Regions from separate parts of the Homo sapiens genome. Here region 1 is linked to region 2. The links are contacts of gene promoters, found by promoter capture Hi-C in blood cells and fetal thymus (Javierre and others, 2016). All regions are on one chromosome and are shown on one strand. Each heading gives the region's core, a stretch centred on a gene start or on the middle of the fragment in contact. The rest is flanking DNA. Distances are from core to core; before and after follow the strand shown. Region 1 overlaps SOWAHC (sosondowah ankyrin repeat domain family member C). Region 2 holds the start of LIMS1 (LIM zinc finger domain containing 1).

Region 1 (7,223 bases), core at 4,581-7,080, 1.1 Mb before region 2:
ATTACAGGCACCCACCACCACTCCAGGCTAATTTTTGTATTTTTAGTAGAGACGGGGTTTCGCCATGTTGGCCAGGCTGGTCTTGAACTCCTGACCTCAGGTGATCTGCCCACCTTGGCTTCCCAAAGTGCTGGGATTACAGGAGTGAGCCACCATGCCCGGCTAGATTCTGCATTTCTAAGAAGAGGATACTGCTGGTTCCAAGGCCACCACTGGTGCAGCATACGCAATGAGAAGTGAAATAGTTGAGTTGAAGAGTATGTGTGTCTTCAACTGCGTTTCCAAGTAGTTTTTCCACATTACTCACCAGGGTGGCACTAATGACTCCCTTTCTGTGTATGAGAGTTCTCTTTGCACCACATCTTTAGCAGCACTTGGTACGATCAGACCACAATCTCAGATATCTAGACTATTCATTACCTCCCTACAAGGGAAGAAAAAGAGAAGCAGACCTCAAGCAACATTCTCCAGACAACTCACAGATGGCTGTAGATGGAAACCTGAAGAACACTCTAGTAGTGAAATCATGTTTGTGAGATGGGCAAGTTCAGCTGAAAGCATGTGTCATGGTTCAGAATAATGGTCAGAGTAGTAAAAGCGGTTGATTCTTCCAGGTGAATTTCTTAAAATATAATATGCATCATGTTACCTTCCTGCTCAAAAAGCTTCCCAGAGCCTCTTTCTGAATCAATTTCTCAGGCTAGCTTTCAAAGCGCTCTGCCAGATGGCCTCTACCTGCTCCGCTCTGCTTGCCTCCTGCCACCCCTCCCTGGAGCACCACCTGAGTGAAGGTTATCTCAGAACAATTTTGTAAGATGGGCTGAACTTTGGTGTTTGTTTTTGTCTTAGCCTCAGGCCACCCTCCATGCTCCCTTGGCCTCTTTTGAAGAAGTGAGTTTGCAAAGCTCTGAGTCAACCGCAGACCCAGCTCCTTCCCAAGCTGTGCAGTGCACAGAAGGCACCTATCACGTTGTTGTAAAATTAAATGGGCACAAAGATGACATAGGGGAAGACCCCTGTGTTTTGCCAAAAACTCTCTTGAGCACCTCTTGGCTGTCCAGACCCCATCCTGGGCTCTCCTGGGTCCTCTCCCTTCTCCTTTCCTCTCCCCACCCCAAACCTACCAACCTTGTTTTTGGAGTTCTTTTAGGAGATTGATTTTGGCTTCCATGGTGGTATCCACCTTCTTGATAAAGGCATCATGGTTTTCTAGAGGTTGATTACGGACCAAAGCATTCTCTTTCCTGGACAGAATTCTCTCACAGCACCCACCTGGGTGCACACCTTAAGCCATGAGCCATTTCAAGGTCAGACATTGGGAAGAATAATCAGAGTGGGATAGCTTTTAGGCAAATTCCACCTGACCACACAGAAACTGGAGTCGCCTGCCAAAAGCCATCCATCGGGGTCACTCTGGGTTTTAGTCAGGGGAAGCTCCAGATAGGTCACCCTCTTAGAGATCCAAGAATTGTGGGGCAGAGTCCGGACCGCAGGAGGCCAGCTGGCAAGAAGAGCTGTTCATTCTGTTAACCCATAAACAGCCCCCGAGTACAAGCCTGCTCAGGATAGCTGTGTGGCTGAGATATCCCCTCTGGAGAGCAGTTGGACAGTGGGCAAGAAAACTGGTGGTGCACCAGAGAGGGACATGCAGGGGCACAGAGGAGGACACTGACAAGTGGCCGGGGGTGGGTATGGGCTCAAGGAAGAGGCCACTAGGGATTTACAGGCAGGGAAAATAGCACCCTTTGTAATAGATTCCGATAGAACAAACATAACACTCCCGCCTGTGCCAAAATGAACTATCTTTTTGTTGTTGTTGTTGTTGTTTTCTTTTTTGAGACAGAGTTTCACTCTGTTGCCCAGGCTGGAGTGCAATGGCACAATCTCAGCTCAGTGCAAGCTCTGCCTCCTGGGTTCAAGTGATTCTTCTTTCTCAGCCTCCCGAGTAGCTGGGATTACAGGCCTGTGCCACCACACCTGGCTAATTTGTGTAGTTTTAGTAGACACAGGGTTTCACCATGTTGGCCAGCTGGTCTCGAACTACTGACCTCAGGTGATCCACCTGCCTCAGCCTCCCAAATTGCTGGGATTACAGGCATGAGCCACTGTGCCCGGCCTCAAAATGAACTATCAAAATTCTTTTAGTGGGTTGCAAATTTATAAATGTATAGTACGAAAACCAGATGCCGTGTTGCTGGTTTTCTTCTACGCTGGCGTTTAATCTCATGATTATGTGGAAGTGGGCTAAGCCCTTCCGTTAATGCTTAAGTGCTTAGACAAGTGAAAGGGGACTGGACAGAGGGGAGGTGAGCCTAAACAAAGAAATATAACTACACCTCAAATATTTTAGCAGCTCCACCATTCTGAGCTGAAGAAATATTCTTTCCTGACCCAAATTAATTTGATCCTAGGTGACACTGGAAAATGCAAACCCCTAAAAATCCAGTTCTAACCCTACTGCTGTGAAGTAACAACAGAGTGTTCAAGTCATTATCTGTCTCAATCATTAATGCTTGTTTTTGGTTCTTAGTTTGCTCTCTTCTGCAATAGTATGAATTTCCTGTATCATTTGTACTTCATTAGGTGCTAGCCCCATAAACTTCAGGCCAGTTGACTGTCTCTTATGTTCCCAAAGAAGTGGTATTTCCTGTACCACTAGGGCTTCCCACAAACCTTAGAGCCAGTCTGCCTGAGCACAAAGCTGAACTGCTAAGAACTAGCTTTGTGACCTTGGGCAAGTAGCAGCTATTTGGGTTTTTGCATTTCAGTTCTCCATCAGTAGAAGTGAGGTACTAGAATCAGGGAAGGGGTATTATGAGAGTTAAACAGCTTGCTTTTTATAAAGTACTTGAAACCTCATCGGGTATATATAGTAAGCTTCCTGAAAGTCTTAGCCGTCTTAGTCTTAACCTTAGTCTTGCTGCCATGTCAGCACCTAGGTGATTCTAAACCTGGCTAAGCCAAAGGTGATTCTTTGCTCAATAGTGCTGAACTGACTACAACCAAATAATTCCCTCTTTATTTATTTATTTATTTATTTATTTATTTTTGAGATGGAGTCTCACTCTGTGGACCAGGCTGGAGTACAGTGGTGCAATCTCAGCTCACTGCAACCTCCGCCTCCCGGGTTAAAGAGATTATCCTGCCTCAGCCTCCCAAGCAGCTGGGATTACATGTGCCCACCACTATGCCTAGCTAATATTTTGTATTTTTAGTAGAGATGGGGTTTCATTATGTTGGCCAGGCTGGTCTCGAACTCCTAACCTCGTGATTCACCTGCCTTGGCCTCCCAAAGTGCTGGGATTACAGGTGTAGGCCACCGCACCTGGCCATCATTGCCTCTTAAATGCAAATTCAAAGATCCAACATCAATATCAGAAATTTCTGGACAAATCTCAAGAATGCTCAATTATGTTTCTAAACTATTATATTCAAAGTTTCTTAGAGATCCAGAAGACTATTCTAATGGAGGGCTCCCAGGTTCTTTGATCAGAATAGCATAAAGTTGGGTTAAAAAAAAAAGTGGCTCACACATGTAATCCCAGCACTTTTAGGAAGCCGAGGTGGGCAGATCACGAGGTCAGGAGATCGAGACCATCCTGGCCAACATGGTGAAACCCCGTCTCTATTAAAATACAAAAAATTATCTGGGCGTAGTGGCGCGCGACTGTAGTCCCAGCTACTCGGGAGGCTGAGGCAGGGAAATCGCTTGAACCGGAGAGGCAGAGGTTGCAGTGAGCCAAGATCACGCCACTGCACTCCAGCCTGGCAACAGAGCAAGACTCCATCTCAAAAAGAAAACAACAACAACAAACCAACAACTTATATGATTCTACTTTATACCACTGGCAAAGCACTGGTTAACTTTATCCTAAGTTAGGCTGCTTTTGGCCAAAGCTTTGGTCAGAATGAATATGGTTTAGAGCAGTGTTTCTTGAGACAGAACTGGTCACAAGTGTGCTTTAAAATGATCTATTTTAAATTTTCAGGTGCTCATGCAACCTCTGACACATTTCCAAAGGCTGAATGTTCTATCTCACAAGGCAGTCCATGGTATGTTTAAAATGATTATTAGAAAGTTCTCCATGTTAAACTAAACTTCATTTCCCTATTCATTTGCTCTTTGGGATTTCACAGAATAAGTAGTCATTTGTATACCTGACAGTACTTAGACTATTTAAGGCCAATTAGAATAATTTCTCCTACAGGTCTTGGACTTGAGTCAGCTTGTAAGGAAACTTTCTTTCTTTCTATTTTTTTTTTGAGACAGAGTCGCTGTGATGCCCAGGCTGGAGTGCAGTGGCACAATCTCAGCTCACTGCAACCTCCGCCTCCCGGGTTCAAGTGATTCTCCTGCCTTAGCCTCCCAAGTAGCTGGGATTACAGGCATGCACCACCATGCTCAGCTAATTTGTGTATTTTTTGTAGAGACTGGGTTTCACCATGTTGGCCAGGCTGGTCTTGAACTCCTGACCTCAGGCGATGCTCCTGCCTCGGCCTCCCAAAGTGCTGGGATTACATGCGTGAGCCACCACGCCCAGCAAAATTTTCTTATAATCAAATTTACTCTTGAAAATCTCTTAAATCGCTCACGAAGTACAGTTCTAATAAAGCTGATTTTATCTTCAGGATTGGAATAACTTGCTGTTCTTTTGGCTGAGCTGCAGATGAACTGATAGGCTGGTATTTAAGAGCCATGTTATATAAAAAAACTATTCACATAGCATGAATGCATGTAATTGAATTATCCATATTATGTAACATTATAAAATATTTAATGTTTTCCATTAAAAGACCCTTACTGAGTACCTTCAACATGCCAGGCACTGTGCAAGGGTAGAACATTTGTCACACATTCCTTACCAATGCATCGATGTGGAAAAATAGGCTATTAGTTAACAGAATAGGAAAGCTACTTACTGAGATGAAACTGACATTTAAAGAGAAGATTGAGAAAAAAAGTATAGTGTTCTTCATGGAAAAAGCAGGTAGTTATGTGAACCACATGACTTCTGTATCTTGAGAAACAAGTTTCTGTAGAGTCATCTTCCAACCCTCTAATATTCAGTGATTTATGAAGACTTGGGTGATCATTGAAGGAATACTGGTTTACAGCAAATTCCAAGTATTTAATCCTGGAATTAATCATGTAAGAAACTCCAAATAATGCTATTTACTTAGCAAAATAAAAATAATTTTTACTAGGAAAATTTCAAAAATATCTTTAAGTGAACTGGTTAATAAATCCTTTTAAGACATGTACTTCTAAGGAAAGAAGTTATTCTAGAAAAACAAACTACTTATCTAGTCTTTCAGTGATCCTGAAAAATATTTTATGGGTTATCATAAAACAAGAATAACCCCAGCAGCCATCACAGTGGGATCTCCCGGATAGAGCAATAGTGGGCGATTACACCAAAGGAGTACCACATCCCTTTGCCATTCAACAGAGTTGAATTTTGCTAAAAATACAGATCACAGGAAGCCTTGATGAGGTAATTAACTCTCAATGCTTCACAGAGGCTGAAAAATGAAAAACGGTATTCCTACACCTGTCTTGAAGTCAGCCCTGGGTAGGGCAGGTTTATGGCAGATGGTGTGTGCAAAACCCATACAGCTTTTTTTTAGGTAGTGGTGGAGGTATTACCTTCTCTCCAAGTTGATTCCTCCATCACTGGTGCCAAACTACAGCAGTTTTGCTAAAAATGTGGCAATTCAATGTGCAGAAAAGATAACGTTGTGGGAAAGCCCTGACTCTTATAATCTTACTAACAGCTTTTTACTGTGTGACCCTGAACAACCATTAACCTCTATTTTCTTATCTGTAAGTCAACAATATATGGCCCATAATCTTAAGGGATAGGAAAAGGGTCAAATAAACTGAAACTTCAAAAAGCATTTTGTGAACTGTAAAACACAGTATATGTAAAAAGTCTAAAGGACGACAGAAACTTAGACAATTCAGAGAAAAATTCTACTGTGAACATTTTATTTTCACAAAACAAACTTTACAGATTTTACAATCTCCCAAATTTCACTTATTTAAAAATAGGAGAGACAAGGCAACCTAGACTCCAAGATTGCAGGCGTGAAAAAACTAGTACCAGATATTCAAGTTATATATGCAAACTGCATTTTATATACCATGAAAGTGAAATGTGACAAACACTCACTAGTTTCAAGTGTACCTTATAAGAAACACATGGACATACTTGGGTTTTTTAACCACATAGTCTCATATCAATAAACATCTAAGTATCTGACATGTATTTTTCCATTAAAGGTAGGCACAACTCTATGAATATCAAATTATATCAATCATTTGCTTTTTATAATCTTGACTGGAAACTGAAAAATAAGAGGAATGTAAAGTTAAGTAGCCGAAAATGCTACTTACTGCACAAAAGCACATCATGAAAAGGAATGCTAGAAGTAGTTCTCCTCAGGAATGGGTTTTTGAAAATTTAAAATATTATTTTATCAGAAAAGTTAAAGCCTTCAGTGGGAAAACCATGGTAAATGACATATTGACTCAATCTCTAAAGCCCTGGCAAATTATAGATTTTGTGCAATTAGTGACCAACATATACATTTAAGAGATAATACTGACTGTTGACCAGAACCTTCTGATGGTTCTGAAGCATCTGCTCTTTAGAGTTACTTCAGCTTTACATGTCTATGAAATTTAAGATTCCTCAATGGGATGTTATAGCTTATTCTGCACTAGATACAAGTAATATGTATAGATTTAGAACAAATGACTACTTTTCACCTTCCAGGAGCCTGTTTTTATTTATACAAAATTAGATTGGTTTTTCACCCACATGTATGCATAAGTGCTTCTCAAATTTACACCGTTCATATCTGAAATCCCACAATAAATGCAAATAAATGGATACTAGTTTATATATTTCATATTTTCATTCATCTTTTTTTTTTTTTTTTTTGAGACAGAGTCTCCGTTGCCCAGGCTGGAGTGCAGTGTCGTGATCTTGGCTCAACTGCAACCTCCACCTCTCAGGTTTAAGTGATTCTCATGCCTCAGCCTCCTAAGTAGCTGGGACTACAGGCACGCACCACCACGCTCGGCTAATTTTTGTATTTTTAGTAGAGACAGGTTTTCACCATGTTGGCCAGGCTGGTTTCAAACTCCTGGCCTCAAGTGATCCACCTGCCTCGGCCTCCCAAAGTGCTGGGATTACAGGCATGAGCCACCATGCCTG
Region 2 (7,046 bases), core at 3,165-5,664:
ATTGCAAGAAATGGGGAGTTGGTATTTACTGGTCACAGAGTTTCAGTTTGGGAAGATGAAAAAGTTCTTGGAAGGAAGGGTAGTGATGGTTGCACAGCAACGTCAATGTACATAATGCCACAGAACTGTACACTCAAAAATGGTTAAAATAGTAAATTTTGTTTTGCATGTTTTCCCGTAACTTTTTTAATACTAAAAAAAGCAATTGCAGAATAGTATGACTATGATTCCATTTTTGTAGAAAGGGAAAGTATGTGTAAACATTACTTGTAAATGCATGTTGTCTGTTATCTTGCTTTACCTTGCCTGCTACTCAGACATCCTGAAAGCCCTGGATTCCTGGTGTGCTGATGCTGAGTCCCGTGCCTCCCACTGCCAAGCACATACTCCCAGCAGCTGAACTACTGCCTTCACCTTTCTTCCTACCTCTCACAGAATGCACTCTTCAGCACTTGCTTTATCTGCAGCTGTCCCGCCCCACTGTTAAATGTCACTGAAGACTCATCAAGCTCCAAAACGTGCTCCAACGTGAAAAAAGATGCAGGAAAATGACTCCCTTACTCATTCCTGCAGTAAGCTCCAGGGTGGAAATGTGTGATATGATCAAATAAAAGAGATGAGATTATATCAGAAAGAGTGAAAAGGAAACCTCTGTTGCTGAAGAATGCACAGTATATGGCAACAGGTAGTGCAGCTCCTGCTTCTCAAGTGTCTTAAAATTAAAGTTTTTGGAAGACAATGTGGCAACAGTCCAGCATATAATGTAGATGACATCCCTGTGGGTGGAAAACCACAGCTTAAAGTGTAGTTACGAGAACTATAAAACTAACAAAATGGTTTGAGATGTTTTTCCTTCTATTTAAGTGCAAACCTAGGTAAGAACATGACCTATACTGAGGTTTATTTATTTAAATGATTATCCAAAGAGCAAACACAACATTATTGAAAATAGAGGCTTTCAGAGTAAAGCTCGGCTCTCCTGTTACTGATCTGCTGCAGCTATGGAAGTTTCTCTGACCCAGTGGAGGGGCTCCAAGGTCCCCCTCTCTAGGAGGAAAGGAAAGCCTACTTGTTGTACTCACATTTAGCAAAGGAAAGAACTGCCCAGGAGACAGGTCAAGGGGCTACAGCAAAGGGAAAAGGGTGGGAATGATCAAATAAAATCAAGACAGCACAATCCTGATGGACAGTTTTCTCTAAGCCTGCAAAAACCGGAACCACCAGAACTGAAATGATCTTTTGTACCACCAAACTTTCCTTAGCTTTCTTAAAAATCAACAGTTCGATTTTCTCACCATACAAACAGGCACAGAGCACTGAAAAGTGTGAATACACTTAGGCCCATGGCATTGTCCCTCTTCATAATGGCACTGGCCATTTTCTTATCAGGGAAAATCCTGAAAGGCAGAAAGTTGCTTCTTCCATGGTGGTCCAAGTCTTAGTTATTACATCCTACTAAAACTAGCCAAAACTACAAGGCACACACTACCACAAGCATTCAAGAGCAATTTTAAGAGAAACCTTGTATTTGTTCCTTTTTAAATATCCCCAATACCTGCATATCCTTCATCATTTAGGATTATGTCTTTAACAGTGGTTCTTAAAGTATGGCCTTGAACTCCTGAGGGTCTCCAAGACCTTTCTAAGGGATCCGAGAGATCAAAACTATTTTCATCATACTAAGATATTCCTAAGAAGTCACTGTAGCATTGTGGACTGTGTTGACACACAGATAGTGCAAAAACAACAGTCGGTACAACTGCTGGCCGCTTAGCACTAAAGAGGGCCGTGGTACTGTCCCTGAATTCTTTACCTTTATGTACTCACAGGAAAATAATGTCAATTTCACTTTTTAAGTGAAATGGTACAGTCATGCTGGAAAAAAACTGTCAGTTTCTCAAAAAACTAAACATACGATTTCTGTACAACCTGCCAATTGCACACTCTTGGACATTTATCCCAGAAAAGGAAAAGTTACATTCACATAAAACTTAGACAGGCTGAGCACAGTGGCTCTAAAATTCCAGCACTTTGGGAGGCTGAGGTGGGTGGACTGCTGGAACCCAGGAGTTTGGGACCCCCAGACTAGCCTGGACAACATGGCGAAACCCTGTTTCTACCAAAAAAATACAAAAATTATCCAGGCATGGTGGCGTGTGTCTGTAGTCCCAGCTACTTGGGGGACTGAGGTGGAAGGATTGCTTCAGCCTGGGAGGTCTAGGGTGCAGTAAGTCATGATCATGCTACTGCATTCCACTCCAGTCTGGGTGACTAAGCAAGACACTGTCTCAAAAACAACAACAAACACCTGTCTATTTGTTCGTAGTAGCTTTCTTAATAGCCCAAAACTAACAGCCTGAATGTCCTTCAAACATGTGAACAGTTAAACTGCTGTACATCCATACCATGGAGCACTACTGAGCAACAAAAAGGAACAAACTATGACATGCACAACAAATAGCGTATGATTCCACTTACATGAGATATGAGGTACCAGCAGTAGTCAAAGTCATAGACAGAAATTAAAATGATGGCTGCCAGGGACTGGCGGGAGGAGGGGAATGGAGAATTATTGTTTAATAGGTACAGAGTTTCAGTTTTGTAAGATAAAGATTTCTGGACATGTATGATGGTTACGGATGCACAATAATTTGAATGAACTTATTACTCTCCCTCCAAAAAGTAAATTACTAATGGTAAATTCAGGATGGGAAGGGGATAGGATGCGGAGAGACACTGGACCAGAGAGGTTTGAAGGTCTTAAAAGGAAACTATTATCTCCTTTATTACACTACATATCCGTTATTCTTAATATCTCACAAATACTTTAAATTTTATATCAACTTACTAGTCAATACTTTTTTTTAAGGAAAAAAGTCCATGATGAAGGAGTACAAATTATTGTTATCAAATCTTGAGCTTTGACTCTTTTTTGTTACTTGTGACCAAATGGCAGGCGTGCACTTCTGTAATAGAGCGATGAGCTGAATTAACTTGCTTGTGTCATGAAATACCATTTTTACGGGAAAGAACAACTGACAAACTAGGGTTATTTAAACCTGTATTGCCGGACACTTCCTTGAAACTGAACAAAGTGAGTCTGTCACTTTGAGGAAAACAATTGACAATATTTTGCTCCCAATGATAAAAAGCAAGCTTTCAACCGAAAATGAGAATTTTGGAAAACTTGTAAACACCACCTTGTATCTGACGGCTTTTAACATAAAGACTTTCCTAATGAAATCAATAGCGATGGTAACGAATGTTATTCGGCGCTATTAATGAAATGCGTCAGCTTGAGATCTGCCAAACTCAGTGAGCCAATATCTTCCAAACGACAAATATATGGTGTTACAATGGGTAACAGCTGCATTCAAACTGCAAGACAGACCAAGGAATTTTAACGTAACTGTGTGCAAAGGCCACTGACAGGAGCTTTAGCTGCATTCAAACTGCAAGACAGACCAAGGAATTTTAACGAAACTGTGTGAAAAGTCCGCTGACAGTAGCTTCAGATTCCACGTCCAAACCAGCCTTTGAGAAACTTCCACTTACGTAGTTTTGGTGTAGTAATAAAGAATACCCATAATTATCTGAAACAGCTATTAAGACAGTACTCACTTTTCCAACTACACATCTGTGTAAGATCAGATTTTCTTCATATAAAAACATACCGCAACAGACTGAACTGCAAAGGAGATGGGAGAACGTAGTTGTCTCTACTAAGTCAGACAACTCAAGAGATTCGCAAACTGTAAAGGACGCCAGTCGTCCCACGAACTCTTTTGTTTTAGCAAAACCCTATGTTGCATAAAAATGTGGTATGTACGTTAACATACCACGGATTTATTCAATGAGTTAATAGTAACTTCAGTGTCTCGGTTTTCCTTTCTAGTACAGTCTATGGAGATAGCCACCATTCCAGGTCCTCTAGTCCCAAGAGGGGTCCTGAGACCAAGACGTCTGCGACCCGCTGATCCCTACTGCTAGAAGATAAATGATTAGCTCGGCAAATACTGATTTGTCTTATGGAACTCTCGGAGCAGCGGGGCGGCGTCAGCGCCTGTGCCACCGCGGACACCCGGGAGTGAACAGCAGCCGTCTCCTCCGCGGGCCCGGACGCAGCCACGCCGCCACCCGAGCGCTGGGGGTCGGGGCTCCGGCCGACCGGGGGAGGCCGCGGGGAAAGCCCGGCCGCCCGCCCGCGCCAGGCCCGGCCCGGCCCGGCCCGAAGGCCCGCCGGGAGCTGCGGGGCGGACGTGGCGGGGGCCGCGCGGTGCGGCCCGTACCTGTGGGTCATCCCGGCCGCCACGCCCAGCATCTCTCCGCTTTCGGCCGCCGCCGTCTCTCAGCCCCTCGTCTCCCGGCGCCGCTCCAGCCGCGTCCTAGTCCCTCGCCGCCGCGGCCGGCTACTGGCGGGCCCGGAGCAGGAAGGGGAGGAAGGCCAGGGGCCGGCCGCGCGGGGGCGCGGGAGGGGGGGGAAGGCGAGGCGGGCCGCGCGGGAAGGCGGGGGAGGGGCGGGAGCGGCTGGGCAAGGAGGGGCGGGGACTGGCGGGGCGGGCGCCGAAGGGCGCGGACTGGAGAGGTAGGCGCGGGGGGGCGGGGCGTTGCGGGGCGGGGCGCGCATCAGACCCCGCCCCAACCCGTGGCTCGGGCCCGCCCCCATTTCAGCACCCCAGGCTAGTCTGGGAGGCTGGCGCAAACGCAGCGGGTGGCTGGGGTAGGGGCTCATTGGGAGCCCACGGAGCGCGGCGGCGGCTCGGGGGCCGAGTTCCCTACAACAAGGATGGCGGTGACGGGCGCAGGGAGCGGGGCCCGGCTCTCCTTGCCTCGAGGCTCCTCTGATTCCACTCGCGTGGCTGCGCGGCCCTGGCAGCGGCCTTCGTCCCGGGGGTGGGAGCTACACAGGGTTCCGCCCCGTCCTGGCGAGGACGCCTGAGGGGGCTCTGTGGTAAGGCTCTGTCGGGCAGGCCGGGCTTCCGGGAGGACCTGGTCTGGATCGGTCACCGCTGGGTGCCTGAGCTCCGCATGGAGCCTGCAGCCTTTGTTTAACTTGTGAGTTAAGAAAAGTTAACCTTTCTTGGAGAGTTTCCAGTCTTGCCTCTGCATCCTGTTCTTCCTTGCTAGCTCTCATTTTCTTCACCCATTCCGTCTATCAAAACCTGAAATTTTGGGGCCGGCGCAGTGGCTCACGCCTGTAATCCCAGCACTTTGGGAGGCTGAGGCAGGCGGATCACCTGAGGTCAGGAGTTCGAGACCAGCCTGACCAACATGGAGAAACCCCGTCTCTACTAAAAATACAAAATTAGCCGGGCGTGGTGGTGGCACATGCCTGTAATCCCAGCTACTCGAGAGGCTGAGGCAGGAGAATCGCTTGAACTTGGGAGGCGGAGCTTGTGGTGAGCTGGGAGATCGCGCCACTGCACTCCAGCCTAGGTAACAGGCTCCGTCCCAAAAAAAAAAAAAAAAAAAAGTGAAATCTCCAAAGGATTTAATAGATTTAATAGATAAGACAAGTTATTCATCCTGGGCATAAATGATCTCTCTCAGGATACCTGATTCTGTAACTATAGCTACTCTCTAGTAATAGAATGAAAACTTTGGTCTCCTGCCAGTCGAGGCATGTCGGAGGAAAACACTGGATCTATTTGATGTCCTCACATGAAAGTAAATTCCAAACAAAGCAAATAGTTAAATGTTCAAAAAACAAAAAAAAAAAAAAAAAAAAAGAGAGAGGTTATGAAAATACCAGAAGAAAACAAGGGAAAAAAACAAAAGTAAGGTTGGAGTGGTGAGAGACTTTTCAAAGAGCATATAAACCATAAAATTAAAAATTGATAAATGTAGGCCGGGCACGGTGACTCACGCGTGTAATCCCAGCACTTGGAGAGGCTGAGGTGAGTGGATCACCTGAGGTCAGGAGTTTGAGACCAGCCTGACCAACATGGTGAAACCCCGTCTCTAATAAAAATACAAAAATTTCACCGGTTGTGGTGGCGGGGTTCCTGTAATCCCAGCTACTTGGGAGGCTGAGGCAGGAGAATTACTTGAACCTGGGAGACAGAGGTTGCAGTGAGCCGAGATCGCGCCATTGCAGTCCAGCCTGGGCGACAGAGCAAGACTCTGTCTCTAAATAAATAAATAAAAATTGATAAATGTAACTACATAGAAATCTAAATTTTCTGCATAGCAAATAAATATAACAAACCCCAACCAAGAAAAATATTTGTAAAATGTATGACAAAAAGTTCTAAATTATTAAAAAAGTTCTAATTATTAAAAAAATCAGTACAAAAATGTTCAACTCAGAGAAAAACAGGTTTCTACAGAAAAATACAAATGATTTCTTAAAGTATCATAAAACAAAAATAAAATACAATTTTTCACAAATGCAAAGATGAAAAGTTTGACTATATATTGTTTTGATGAGGATATAGGGAAACCCTTTTTTCCTCCCCTAGAGGAGGCCTCTCTATGTTACCCACACTGGTCTTGAACTCTTGGACTTCAACTATCCTTTTGAATAGCAGGGTTTACGAGTGCACGTCAGCATGCCTGGCTAATTTATTGTTGATAGGAGTATAAATCCATACACGCTTTGTAAAGAACAAGTGGGCAATAGCTATCAATGTAAAATTCAGCTCTTCTTTGACCCAAGATATTCATATTTTGGAATTTATCTTACAAATGTATTCTTATATGTACACCAAAAGAATGTACAAATTTGGGCATGGTGGCTCACACCTGTAATCCCAGCACTTTTGGAGGTCGAAGCAGGAGGATCCCTTGAGGTTAGGAGTCCAAGACCAGCCTGGGAAGAAAAGGGAGACCCCCCTGCCTTGTCTCTACAAAAAAAAAAAATTAAAAATTAGCTGGGCATGGTGGCGTGCACCTGTAGTTCCAGCCAGCTATAATTGCACCACTGCACTGCAGCCTGGGTGACAGAGTGAGACCCCGATTCAAAAAAAAAAAAAAAAGAAAAAAGAAAGAACAAATTTTAAAGGTCCCTAGGCAACTATCTGTACACTAAATGACATCACTGAAAT

Evidence for each region. Contacts are between HindIII fragments. The CHiCAGO score rates a contact against its expected background, and 5 or more counts as called.
Region 1: a fragment that was not itself captured here is called in contact with the fragment with the promoter of LIMS1 in region 2 in 2 of 17 cell types (fetal thymus and total B cells); the score reaches 6.8 in fetal thymus.

Annotation. Positions count from the first base shown.
Region 1 is chr2:109,617,740-109,624,962 of GRCh38, reverse strand. It overlaps SOWAHC (sosondowah ankyrin repeat domain family member C), which reads right to left. Exons shown (of 1, transcript NM_023016.4): 1 at 5,973-7,223. It also overlaps a transcript of RANBP2 not described here. Among named protein-coding and RNA genes, the nearest start is that of SOWAHC, 7.0 kb to the right of the region's middle. The HindIII fragment of the contact is 3,861 bases long and covers 3,900-7,223 here.
Region 2 is chr2:108,531,838-108,538,883 of GRCh38, reverse strand. LIMS1 (LIM zinc finger domain containing 1) reads right to left here and starts at 4,414. Exons shown (of 10, transcript NM_001193483.3): 1 at 4,290-4,414. The coding sequence starts at 4,321. It overlaps GCC2-AS1 (GCC2 antisense RNA 1), which reads left to right and starts at 4,665. Exons shown (of 3, transcript NR_135290.1): 1 at 4,665-5,055. RefSeq lists silencers at 4,169-4,768, 5,257-5,551. The HindIII fragment of the contact is 7,547 bases long and covers 3,159-7,046 here.